Linked DNA regions of Homo sapiens: all the other regions are linked to region 2. The links are contacts of gene promoters, found by promoter capture Hi-C in blood cells and fetal thymus (Javierre and others, 2016). All regions are on one chromosome and are shown on one strand. Each heading gives the region's core, a stretch centred on a gene start or on the middle of the fragment in contact. The rest is flanking DNA. Distances are from core to core; before and after follow the strand shown.

Region 1 (4,436 bases), core at 299-2,798, 800 kb before region 2:
TATTGTTAGTTGTTGCCTTATAAAATTTATTTATCTGATGAATACGAGAAGTCTTCTGAGGTTGAGAATCTTAACATGTATTTATTTACTCTTTGGGGTTTACTTCTTCATATCTTTTTTTTTGTTTTTCAATTTTCATCTATTTTCTTATTGATTTATAGTAATTCTATATACACTACTGAATGCTAATTCTTTGTCAGTTTTGTGCACAGCAAATATGCTTCCTGATCTGTGGGTTATCTTTTCCATTTGTTTGTATTTTTGATGCAGAATATTTTTAATTAAAAGTTTGAAATCCATCTTTTCTTTATGTTCACGTGGTTCTTGATGTATTTGAAAAAGCATTCTCCAATATCGAGGTCATAAAGATATTTGCTATATTTTCTGCTAAACATTTTAAAATTTTACTTTTTACAATTACATCTTTAACCGACTGGAATTGATCTGTTTTTACAGTATAAAGATGGGATTCAATTTTTTTTTCATATGGATAAGCTACTATGTCAGAACCTTTTACTGGAATGATCCCTTCTTCCCAACTGCTTTGTAATGCCAGCTCTGTTGCACGTCAATTTTCCATCTGATCAATATGTTTTCATTGTCTACCATGTATTCAACTGTGTTCTAAGCACTAGTTACGTATCAGTAACAAAATAATTACACCTGATTCTCATTCTGCATTTCCATCCTGTTTCTTAGAGTTGATATCACTATGTCTAAAACACTGTTTAATGACTATAAGGTTTATTTGGTCATGTTATCTAATAAAAAAGTTCCTCTCCTCTTATTCCTCTTTTTTTCAAATTATTCTGCCATTCTTGCTGCTCTTATCAAAATACACATATACCTAAAATATTAATATATATGAGTACAAATATAATTTCTATAACAAACCTGTGTCTTAGGTTGCTTTCCCCAAAAGCAGAGCCTGAGAAGAATTCTTGTTGAAGTGCTTCTCTTAAGAAAAGAAGAATGAGAGAAGCAAGAAGCAAGGTAGATGGAATACTATCCAGCTGTAAAAAAGAATGAAATCATGTCCTTTGCAGCAACATGGATGTAGCTGGAGGTCATTATCCTAAGCAAATTATTAACACAGTGACAGAAAACCAAAATACAGCATGTTCTCACTTATAAGTATGAGCTAAATATTGGGTACTCATGGACATAGACTTGGGAACAATAGACACTGGGGACTACTAGAGGAGGGAGGTAGAAGTGGGGGCAAGGGGCAAAAAACCAATTGTTGTGTACTTTGCTCACTAACTGGTGACAGGATCATTGGTACCACAAACCTCAGCATCACACAATATACCCCTGTAACAAATCTGCACATGTACTCCCTGAATATAAAATAAAAGTTGAAATTATTGTTTTAAAGAAGCAAGGTAGGGGTATCTCTCATACAGCTAAGGGCAATAATTCAGTAAAGGGGATTATCGGGGGTCTTACCAGTCAACATTCACGGCAGCTAGGGGATGTGGTGGGGCACCTGCATTATCCACCATAATCTGTAGCACTATTTTTTAAGAATAAAAATATGCTCCAAAACATGTAGATTTTACACACTATGGATAACCTGATGGGAGAGAGATGGAGTTAGAAATAGGTGAAAATTAAAAAAAAAAAAAACTAAAAGAATTTTCCTCTAGATTGTTGAATGATGAAGTTCTATTGCCCATTTCTGTATCTGTGACACAATAAAATATTGATATAAATAAATACGTAGTGATGAAAAAAATACACAATTCCATCCCCAAACACACTCTTACCCTTTAAAAACACTGCTTTGCCAAAACTGAGAAAGCCTTGTGAATAGCTATGGTCTATAATTTAGGAGGTTTTTGTTGAGCTTTTGTAAGTCTCTACTAATGAGTCAGTGTTCAGCCACTGTTCAGTTGTAGCTTTTAATTGCAAACTTTGGGACACTCTAAATTAGGGGTATATGAAGCCAAATTCACTAAAACCCAATGCATGCTGATGGGCTTAGTTATTTTTTCCCAGTGTGGACTTATGCTCAGCCTCAACTCTTACGTATATTTGCATTGTGAAGAAGAAAAAATTTTGCATTTTGATTTATTGATGCTTAAGTCCAAGGCACATTGTTTGCTAAGGCTTGCCTGATATTGAGGCTGTCTCAGGAGTAGTATTTTTATATGCTTGCTATCTTGCAAACAGAATAAAATTTATGTTACACAGTTTAACCATTTTGTCTTGTTTCCTGATCATCCAAATGCATAGTTACCTTACTATAATATCCAGGCTAATATTGTTATCCTCACTACCTCACTTGAAACACACAAATCAGACTCCAGTCTAACTTTTATAAAGGTAGACTAGAATCAGGAGTCCAACAATATTGTGGAAGCAGTTAGCATACATCTCTATCACAATGCAGCATCCAGTATCCAGTACACAACATACTGCAATATCCAATGCAGTATTTTAATGTCTAAAAGAAAAGGAAATCTAGAAACCATGAGTAAAATTAATGAAACAATAAGCCCTATAGATGTCTCTGTAGAAGTCTGGTGTGATAGCATGAAAGACTCAGACCTCAGAGGGAAGGGCTGGGGGTCTTGGTGCTGCCTCAGAAAGAGAACACTTAGCTTTTGGCTTGAATTTACCAGAGGATGAGCTGAGCAGCTCTGCTCAGAATCAGAATCATAGAAGGATTGTACCTAAGTGATAGGAAGAAGAGAATACTTACACTCTCTCCCCAGGACAATGAGAAATGAAAAGTAAACATGCTTCTGCCTAGGGCTTTGGGTGGGTAAAAATGTCTTCTATATCTCCTGTGGAATTAAACTCATAAACTGCTTCATGTATGCAAATGAAATCAAAAGTTTGTCTAATCCTATGAATAAAAAATAATTCACAAATAAAAAAAGGTTAAATCTAGCTCCAAACTGTTGAAACTCGTAGGCTATCTAATAAAAATAAATCAAAGCTATTCATATTAACAATTATAAAAATTAGAATATATAATATTTCTATAGACAAAAATAGCCTCTGCTGAAGATGTGCTTACATAAAATAAGATAATAATCTACCATGAGAGTCAGAAGACATAACAAACTGAAAATTAAATCGAAAAAGGAAGCACAAAGGAAGTATATGAAGAAAATCAATATGAGATCAAATTAATTAAATAAAAAACAAAATATGATCAAGAGGATTGACAACAAAAATTTATACTTTAAATAGAATTCAAAATTGATTTAAAAATTTGTTAATGCTAATGAATAGAAAAAAGAGAGGACAAATTTCCAAAATCAGAAATAAAAAATAAAAAGACATCAAATTTAAAAATAAAGGATATTATGGTCAACTTTTGGAAAATAAATGTAAAAATTTGAATAAAATCAAAAAGTCTTAAAAAATTATTACAACTGACCTAAGATCAAAGAAAACATAAATTGTCCTTTCTCTATTAAAAAACTGCATTCTTAAAAAAACACATAAAAACCTCTTCACAAATAAAAGAGCAGTTTCAGATGGCTTCAAAGCACAAGATTGGCAAACTTTAATAAAAGAATAACACCAAGCTTATAAAAATATTTCTAAAGAAGTAAAAAAAGTCAGAGCACTGACTATTTTATTTTAAGAAACCAGAGTTAACATGGTATTTAAACATGATGAAGGAATTATAAGAAAAGAAATGTACTGGACAATCCACGTATAAAAAAAATGAAAACTCTTAAAGATAATATTTGTTAAAAAGTCAGTAATACATACAAATTATAACATACTACGTCCAATTTAGGTTTATTTCTGGATTGCAATTTGCTTCAGTTTTCAAAAATTAATCAACATAATATATCTTGTTAATGGAATAAGGGATAAAAGTTTATTATCTCAATAAATACCTAAGTATAATTTGATAAAATTCAACCTCTATTGATGACAAAAATTAAAAAGAATTTGAAAATCTAGAATACAAGATTTTTCTTAATCTTTTAAAAAAAATCATCTGGTGTTTTAGCAACCAGAATGTTAACTCTCGTGTGTCCAATCAATTTTATACTGATTTTACCACATTTCTGTGTGATAAAATAAGGAAAGGAAATGAAAACAAATGTATATGAATCAGAAAGTGACAAATAAAACTAATTATTTGTAGATAATATGGAATTTTAAAGTATAATGACTAATTGCAAAATCTATGAAGAATAGAGTAGGAAAATAAATTTCATGATATTCCTATAATGGAATATTACATGACTAGACAAAATGAATGAACTAAGACTTTACATAAAAACAGAGTTGATTCTTTTATAAATACATTGTTGAGTAAATAAACCAGACATAAGAAAGTCTGTATAATTCTGTCTATAAAATTTCAAAAGTTGGCAGGACTAACTTGTGATGGTAAAAGTCTGGATAGTGGTATAATTGAGGAAAAAGAAAAGTGTAATGATTGAGAGGGGACATGAAGG
Region 2 (4,294 bases), core at 1,140-3,639:
TCCACACAAGGGACTAAGCCAAGCTGGGGTGGCCCCAGGCAGCGCCCAAATGCCTTGACATGGTTCCATAAATCCCATCCCAGGAGCCAGGAAGTTCCCCGGGAGGGTGGTGTCCCCCACCCAAATCCCAGGACAGAATGATGGGTCCTTCTCCATGCACGTCCCCTGCTGAGTGGAGCTGAGCGAAGCAGGTCTACAGTTGGCTTTCCTGCGCAGAGGGGTCTTCCTTAGGCAGGGGCTTCGGATGGCCTGCAGCTTGGATGACTGTGACGCTGCCCGGCCTGGCGCCCTGAGCTCAGCCTCCTACTCTCCATCCTTCCCCACTCCCATTTCCTGTACGTCTGTCGAGGGGAGTGGGGGAAGGGGACTTGTGTCCTAGGCGCCTCCACGTTCAGATCTAGCGGAGCTGGGGGTCCCAGAAGGAGCTGCTCTTGAAGGGCTTTCTAGAACCGCGGACAGCTCCTCCAGGGCGCCCTCCGGCTGGCGCTTTGTGCGCCTAGCACAGCTTCCACGGACCCTGCGCTTCCAGCCGAGATCAGTGCGACCAGCCCGAGCCTAGTCCTGCAACCTGGACAGCTCTGGAGTCAGCCACCCACATCCCGCCTCACCAAGCCTCGAGGGTCCCTGAGGTCCCGGAGCTAGGCCCAGTGATCCCTCGAGCTGGGGGCTGGGTAGGAGGAGGGAGGCCCGGATTCCTCACTACACCCGGAGCCGGCGCCGCAATGCTGACCGCGAGACCCGCACCCCTCCAGGGCGGGAAGCAGGTTTGGTCACGGGCCCCTGAGGAGGAATCGTAGCTCTCCGAGCCCAGGCCTAGTCCTCACCACCCCACTCCACCACCCACCCTCCCGCCTTGTCCCGTCCTCCTCGCCTTCAACACCTCCCAACCCCCAGTTTCCCTGTGCTCGCTGGTCTTTCCCAACTTCCGGAAAGACGACTGCGGAGGGACTCCCCCAAAGCGACCGCTGTCAGCCCCCCAACTCGGCCCAACTTCCCGAGATTCCTCCCGTGTTGCTCCCAACTCCCACCCACTCCCCCTCGGCGCGCCCACTCCCCCTCGGCGCGCCCCCTCCTCCTCTGCGCTTTCATCTTCTCTCCCGGTTCTCTCTCTCTATCCATCTCTTCCCGCTCAGCATCCCCCTACCCCCCGCTGCCCACGCTTCTTCCCTCGGCTCCCACCACCCAGACCGTCTGGGCCCCCAAGACTTGGACCACGCAAAACTCTAGGACTGTCCAGGATGGGGATGCAGTCGCCACAACCAGATACACACGCACTCACACATACACCAAGGGCTACACAGACACACACCGGAGAAGCAGGCAGACACTGTGTCCACTCTAACAGGCTGACAGACAGTCGTGCACGCACCAACACACGCTCAGATGGCCCCACACACCCCAACACCCTCTCACAGTAACACCGACACCGTGCCAGGCGCACACAGCGACACACGCTGACAACACGCACCCACACACATTCACACACGGTTCCGGTCCGGCCTCTTTGATCTTGCCCTGCCAACTTGGCGAGCCCCCCGCTGTACCTCCCCCTGCCCCCCGCTGCTCTGAGCTGCGCAGAAGGGCCCTCCCGACCCGCCGACGGCCCCGCTAAGGGCGCGGGTCTCGACGCGCGTCCATCCCGGTGTTCCCCGAAGCGTCGGCCCTAAGTGTCGGTAGAGGCCGCGGGGCCCCGCGCGGAGATCGGAGCCCCGGGGAGCGGCAAGCAGCCAGCGGGAGCGCGGCGCGGCCGGTGCACAGCTCCTCCGCCGGGCGGCGCGGCGCGGCCCTTCGGGGGAGCACCGCCCGCCGAGCCCCTCGGCCCAGGGAAACGCCAAGTTTGGACGCCGCGCACCCCCTGCCCCGTTGGGGCCCCCGCCCAGCCTCGGCCCGGCCTCCAGCCGCGCTTACCGATGTGGATGATGGAGTCGGCCCGCACCGACACGCACTGGCATATCCAGGGGAGAAGCCACAGCGTCAGCGCTTCCATGTCCCCCGGGCGCGCGGCTCATCCACCCGGGCCCGGGGCGAGGCCGAGGGCAGCGCGAAGCGGGGAGGCGCTGGTCCCGGTGCAGTCCCGGGCCGCTCCCCGGGAGAGCCGAGCCCGCCCGTGCGTCTTCCCCCGCGCGCCCGCCCCTGCGCCCTGCGCCCGCCCCAGCCCAGCCCAGCCCAGCCCAGCGCGGTCGGGCTCCCGCTCCGGCTCCGGTGGCGGCTGCGGCGGTGCTGGCAGCTTGAGCCCAGGCCGGCGCGGCGGGGGCGGCCCGCGGCTGTGGCAGCGGCGCTTCCCGCGGCTAGAGCGGCTTCGGGGGAGGCTGAGGCGGTGGCGGCGGCGGCCGGGCCGGCGTGGCGGCTCTGGGCTGGCTGTGTGTCTGAGCCCCGGCGAGGAGCGAACTGCGGAGGACGCCCCCTCCCCTCCCCCTCCCCCTCAGCTCCGCTCCCCCTCCCCTCCCTGCCCGCCTCCCTCCCCTCCGCCCGCCTCTCTACCACGTGACTGCGGAGCCTCAGCCTCGCCGCGCGGCTCTCGCCCGCTCGCGGCTCGGAGGGGGCGCCGGGTGCTCCACGCTCCCGGCTCGGGGGACGCTCGGAGACCGGCACAGCGGCGGGGACCGGCCTGGGCTGCGGCGCGCCGAGCTCTGACGGTTCGGGCCTCCTTCTCCGGTTCGCCAGGGGCGGGAGAATGGAGGAGGGCCGGCCGCTAACTGCCCTCGAGGGGCTCCCGAAGCGCCCTGGCGACCTCAGCAGCCGCGCGTCTCGGGTCATGTCCCCGGCCGAAACAGACCGTTCCTCGTGGAGTGGGACCTGGGGAGCAAGAAGAGAGACCGGGGCGGGGCGCCGGGCCAGGCCCCAGGACAGCTGGGGAGCCAGAGGGGGCCGGCCGCCGCAAGCATCTCAGAGTAGAGCCCGGGCCGTGGGCTCGAACCCTGGCTGGCCGCGCGGACCTCGGCGGGCGCCCATCCCCCGCTCCATGGGCAGCGCGCTCAGCCGGGAGTCGGGCAAGAGGCTCGGACTCTGAAGCCCAATTCATGGCCGGAAACCAGCGCAGCCGTGACCGCGGCGCCTGGACGTGAGGAGCCTTCCAAGCGGCCGGCGGGCTCAGACTCCGACCCTGCACGGAGCTTTCATGTGCGAGCCCGGGCGAAGAGCCCGCTCCTCGCGGCCACAGCGGAACAGGGCTCCCTCCGCCTCCGGTGCCTGCCTCGGGCCGGCCACCACCAAAGAGAGCGTTAAGCTGTTGTGGGCTCGTGCCTGAAAGGGACTGGGCTCCATGTGGCACCCCCAAGATTTCGAGGAGACAGCTGAGCTTCCTGGGGTCTGGGACCTGGCAGAGCCTCGTTCAAAAGCTGCTCCTCCAGCAAGCCTGGGAACGTCCCCGGGCCCTGTTGTCCGCGGAGGGGCCCCAGGACTCCCGCCACGCACCAGGGGGAGAGGCTCCCACCACAGCCCTTGCCCAGAGCTCCCAGCGCAGTGGGCGAGGCAGACACCCAACCAAGTCATCTTTTAAATGTTGGGGGGGGCTATGAATGAGCTGTGTATGCTCAGATGCCTGGGCTCTGAACCAGCCTGGGAAGAAGAGCAGGGATGACTTCCTGGAGGAGATGACAGTTGTAAAGACTGAGTGGAGGTTCCCAAGGGAGAAAATAAGGCTTCCAGGCATTGAATAGTGGTGAGCCAAGGCAAAAAGAAAGAAGTGTGTGTCTGTATGTCTGTCTGTCTCTCATGTGGCCAGAGCCAAAGAGTAAGCATTGGTAGATTTCACTTTGGAAAGAAAGATTGGAGAGGATGGGCTGTGCAGAGGGGGCCAGTGGAGGCCCATAGCACTGTGAGGGAACCCTGGGTGGGCCAGCTCAGCTGGGCAGGGACAGCCTGTTGGAGCGGAGAAGCTGGATTGCAGAAGTATCAAGGAATCCCATGAGCCAGCAAGGTGACTTCTAGGTTAAGGAGGCCAGGGGGCAAGAAGAGAGGAGTGGTCATATGTCATACTTGCCCATGGGAGTGGCTGAATGTGGTCCTACACACACACACACACACACACACACACACACACACACTTCTTCCAAAAACCTGTCTTAGGGTCCTTGAGTAGTGAAACCTGACCCACCCCGCATCTCAAAACCCTCTACACCTCTAATTCTTATTCCTGCAAAATTCTACCATTCACTGGCTGAAATGCTGTAGGGAGAAGAGAAATAAATGATGAGTTTTATTATACATCAGTTTGGTTCCTACGGGGACTGTCTCCACCTTGAAAGGATGGTGGGTGTGGTCTTGACCTGAAGTCCCTGTGGGTCAGGGACTC
Region 3 (4,569 bases), core at 623-3,122, 850 kb before region 2:
ACAGAGAGCCAAATCATGAGTGAACTCCCATTCACAATTGCTTCAAAGAGAATAAAATACCTAGGAATCCAACTTACGAGGGACGTGAAGGACCTCTTGCTATTTGTTTTCCATTTTTGTCTTTTGTTTTTGTTCTTCTGTTGATGTTTTCTTGCTTTTTTTTGGGGGGGGGGTTGGAGGTGGGTGATACTCGAACACAATCACATATTTTATGTCGTCTATTAACTTCTCATCAATATCTCTTTCATTATTTTTTATAGTTGCTCTAGGGCTAATAATCTGTACTTAATTTCCAGTAGCCAGACAGATTAATGTTTCCACTTCACACCTGACACTTTCCTCTTCTGATGCTTCCACTTTCCACTATGCTCTTCACACCTCCCACTTATCACTTTTCAAATGTAATAATTAAAAAGCAGTAAAGTTATATGTACATAACCCCTTTCTTTAGTGCTATTGTGCCACTTTTTATTTCTACACCATAATCCTACTTTATGATGTTAATATTTTGTGGTAAACAGTTATTATTTATAGAAATTATAAGCAGCAAAATGAATAGCTTTTTATGTGTAACTACTTCTTTTCAATTTTTGTTGCTTTCTTTTGCTTCCTAGATATCTGAATTTCCGTCTGATATCATTTTTCTTCAACCTTAAGAACATTTTGAATTTCTTCCATTGCAAGTCTGCTAGTAGCAAATTCTCTCAGTTTTATTTATCAGATGTCTTTATTAGCCCTTCATTTTTAGATGTTATTTTTAGTTTGTATAGAATTCTGAGTTGACTGACACCACCACCACCCCAGCACATTAAGGATGTCATTGCATTGTACCCTGGCCTGCTCTCTTCCTGATGAGAAGTTATTGGTCATTCTCCTCTTTGCTTTCCTGTATATAATGTGACTTTTTTTCACTGGATACTTTAAATATCTTCTCTTTCTCTTAGGTTTTCAGTAGGTTGACTATAATACACCTTGAAGCAGTTTTCTCTGTATTTATTCTGCTAGGAGTTCATTAAGCTTCTTATATCTGTAAGTCAATGTTTCTCATCACAGTTTGTAACTTTTCAGTTATTGTATTTCAAGCATTTTTGTATCATTATTCATCTAGTCTCCTTATAGAAATCCTATTTACACACATCAGACCATATTATATTGACTCACATAACCCTGAGGCTCTGTTGATAGTTTTTTCTACCTTTATTTTATCTCTTCTTTGGATTAGATTATTTCTTTAGATTTTGAGTCAAGTTTGATTCCTCAATTTTTCTCTACCTTCAATCTGCTGATCTGACCATGCAATAAATTTTTCCTGCAATGAATTCCTAAATGTGTATTTTGTTATTTGTCATAGTTTCCATTCCTCTTAGGTGATTTCTGAATGCCTTATTCATTAATATAATATTTTATTTTATTCCTTAAACATATTTCTTTATGTTCTTCCAGCACTTTATAGTAGCTGTTTTACATTGTGTGTGTGTGTGTGTGTGTGTGTGTGTGTGTGTGTGTGTGTGTGTGTTTCTGCTAAGTCCATATTAAAGACCATCTTGTGGTCAATCTCTATTGACTTTTTTCCCCCATGACTAGTTTTATCTATGTTCAGCAATTTTTGATTTCCTACTAGACATTGCTGTGTAGAGTTGTATGGACTTTGGATTCTGTCATCTTTTTCTAAAGAGTGTTGGCTTTTGTTCTAGTAAGTAGTTTACTTCTTGCTCACCTTGCAACTGAGTAAGTTTTCTTACATCTTATTATGGAAGATCTGTTGAAAAGCAGTTCTGTTTTCATGTCCTCTTTAACATGGCAAGATTCAACTTCCAAACACTGTCTCTTTTTCAGAATCTTGTTAAAGTTTGTTTTCAGACTTTTTAAAGAGAAATAAAATAAAACTTACTAAAAATTTAATCTTTCCTTATAAGGAGTAGTAGTCCATTCTCACACTGCTAATAAAGACATACTTGAGACTGAGTAATTTATAAAGGAAAGAGGTTTAATGGACTCACAGTTCTACATGGCTGGGGAGGCCTCACAATCATAGTGGAAGGCAAAGGAAGAGCAAAGGCACGTCTTACATCGCAGCAGGCAAGAGAGCATGTGCAGGGGAACTGCCCTTTATAAAACCATCAGATCTCATAAGACTTATTCACTATCCTGAGAACAGAAAGTGGAAAACCTGCCCCCATGATTCAGTTACCTCCCACCAGGTCCTACCCAGGATATGTGGGGATTACGGGAGCTACAATTCAAGATGAGATTGGGGTGGGGGGAAACAGCCAAACCATATCATAAGGGAAAGCCTAAAGATGTCTTAAGTGGATATCTCCAACATCCCTGAGCACTGCTTGAGCTCTAGTATCTGTTCCGTTCTCCATCCTATAACAGCTACATCTTCTAAGTTTCTCATTAAACTTGTACAGCCCTGGGTCCTTGTCAAGGACTCATGGAGACTCATGAGGAAACCTCTGTCCAGCTCTCTATCCTCTAGTGCCTGCCTATTAAATTCCAGCAACTTTGGTTTTCTCAAACCCTAATATCTACCTCCTCTGATCAGTGATGCTGCTGTTCTTTGCTTGGACTCCAGCTCACTACACAGCCATCAGAAAACTGTCCCCCAGGCAGAAACCTGAGGCCATGATGGGGATTACCGAATGAATTGCCCTTTTTTCCCAGTAACTGCCATACTGTTTTCAATAATGGTTGTGCCATTTCACACCCCTGCTAGTAGCAAACAAAGCTTTCAATTCTCCACATGACTTACCAACATTTTTTCAATTAAGTGAACATTTTAACTATGTTCATTATATCTTTCCCCTCCATTGCTTAAAATTCTTTGGCAATTTCCTACTGTACTCAGCAAAAGAACTAGACATTGACTATCAGGTCTTGGTCAAGCCCCTATCTGCCTCTCCAGCTATGGGATTTTATGAGGCTTCCTAGAACCTGGAAACTTTTTACCTCAGAATATTTGCACCGCCAGATTTTTGGATTTCAACTTCCTCAACTTTTCATGTAACTATTTCAATTAAAACTTTGAAATCTGATACAAAGTAAGATGATGTCAATGTTATTGAATATTCATCTGGAAGTGGAACTCAGTGTTATCAAGATCAAAAATAAGAGTTGTAAATATTAGAAAGAAGGAAGTGGCCAGGCCCAGTGGCTCATGCCTGTAATCCCAGCACTTTGGGAGGCTGAGGCAGGTGGATCACCTGAGGTCAGGAGTTAGAGACCAGCCTGGCCAACATGGTGAAACTCTGTCTCTACTAAAAATACAAAAATTAGCCCGACGTGGTCATGGGAGCCTGTAATCCCAGCTACTGGGGAGGCTGAGGCAAGAGAATCACTTGAACCCGGGAGGTGGAGGTTGCAGTGAGCTGAGATAGTGTCACTGCACTCCAGCCTGGGCGACAGAGCAAGACTCCATCTCAAAAAAAAAAAAAAAAAAAAAAAAGAAGGAAGAATGCTAACCAACATTACTTTACAGTGGGATGGGATTAACTTACCCCCTTTTTCTTAGAAAAATAGGTTAATAATCAAGATTCTATGCTCTGAAGTTAGCACTTTGGTTAAAATCCTGGTGTGCCACTTACTTGCCCTGCCACATTGGTAACTCAATCACTCCAAGTCTCAATGGCAATAAAATGTGTAATTTACTTTGCTCAGGGCCTAGCAACCAAGTAGGAATTTAGTAAATGTGAACTATTATCTTTTTGAATAATGTTTCTAGTATAAGCTTTTGTTTTGTGTATAAGAAGAAAGCCTATTAAAAACAAATATGCCAAAACAAAGAACGCAGACTGAATGATCTTATATTTTAATCTTGTCTGCTATAATCTTGTCTGCTGCAATCTGCCGTCTCTTCCTTGAGTCTTCTGTTTCCATCAGGGCTTCATTTTTTAATAGCACTGAATCTGAAAGATAACAACAGTAATTATAGGGGAGAAAACTGAGGCATAGCAAGGAGAAGGGCTTGTTAGTGTTAACCTGCTGTCACTGGAAGAGCTCTGATCTGAAACTGGGTCTGTTCTATGTTGTTCACTCTGCCAAGTGGCCTGTGAACTAGGGAAGGGTGTTGCCCTTGCTTCTCTCCTTATCCTCAATACCTGTGTGGTCTGAAAGACTGAAATAGATACTGCTTTATCAACTAAGACAGGCCCTAAGGTTAAGAAAACAAAAGTTACCCATGGATCGAGCATTCAGGGCCCAGCTGGTATGGCAAATTTCTAAATTCCTATGACCACAAGAAAAAAATCACACCCTCACAAAACTCCCCAGCAATAGGAGCTGTCAGGCTGATTTGCAACCCAGGCCGCTACACATCTGATTGGACAGACCACCAGCCTTACAAACATTCTTTTCTGATAAGTAATTGCAGAACTTAAACCATTTGCAGCAGCTCATAGAGGCTGCGCACAAATTGTCTTTGTGTCTTATAATTCACCTTTGATGTGAAGAGCCAAATTCCACCCCATTTCAATGCTAAAACCCTGCCCTAAAGTGAACATGGAATGTATGATACGTACTGGTTTACCCGTTATGCATGCACTTGGCTTCTCTCATAAATATGTATAG

Evidence for each region. The method cuts DNA at HindIII sites, captures the fragments that hold promoters and counts their contacts. A CHiCAGO score of 5 or more calls a contact.
Region 1: a contact is called between a fragment that was not itself captured here and the fragment with the promoter of GRID1 in region 2, in 1 of 17 cell types (total CD4 T cells). The highest score is 5.0, in total CD4 T cells.
Region 3: a fragment that was not itself captured here is called in contact with the fragment with the promoter of GRID1 in region 2 in 1 of 17 cell types (activated CD4 T cells); the score reaches 5.1 in activated CD4 T cells.

Annotation. Positions count from the first base shown.
Region 1 is chr10:85,560,309-85,564,744 of GRCh38, forward strand. LOC105378404 (a long non-coding RNA gene) reads right to left here. Exons shown (of 6, transcript XR_946157.3): 2 at 1,450-1,576; 3 at 895-1,013. Among named protein-coding and RNA genes, the nearest start is that of GRID1-AS1, 15 kb to the right of the region's middle. The HindIII fragment of the contact is 3,990 bases long and covers 1-3,543 here.
Region 2 is chr10:86,364,406-86,368,699 of GRCh38, forward strand. GRID1 (glutamate ionotropic receptor delta type subunit 1) reads right to left here and starts at 2,390. Exons shown (of 16, transcript NM_017551.3): 1 at 1,909-2,390. The coding sequence starts at 1,987. RefSeq lists silencers at 1,699-1,848, 1,879-2,078, 2,309-2,358, 2,379-2,768, 2,879-3,088. The HindIII fragment of the contact is 11,562 bases long and covers 1-4,294 here.
Region 3 is chr10:85,519,917-85,524,485 of GRCh38, forward strand. No RefSeq gene overlaps it. Among named protein-coding and RNA genes, the nearest start is that of GRID1-AS1, 56 kb to the right of the region's middle. The HindIII fragment of the contact is 1,714 bases long and covers 1,016-2,729 here.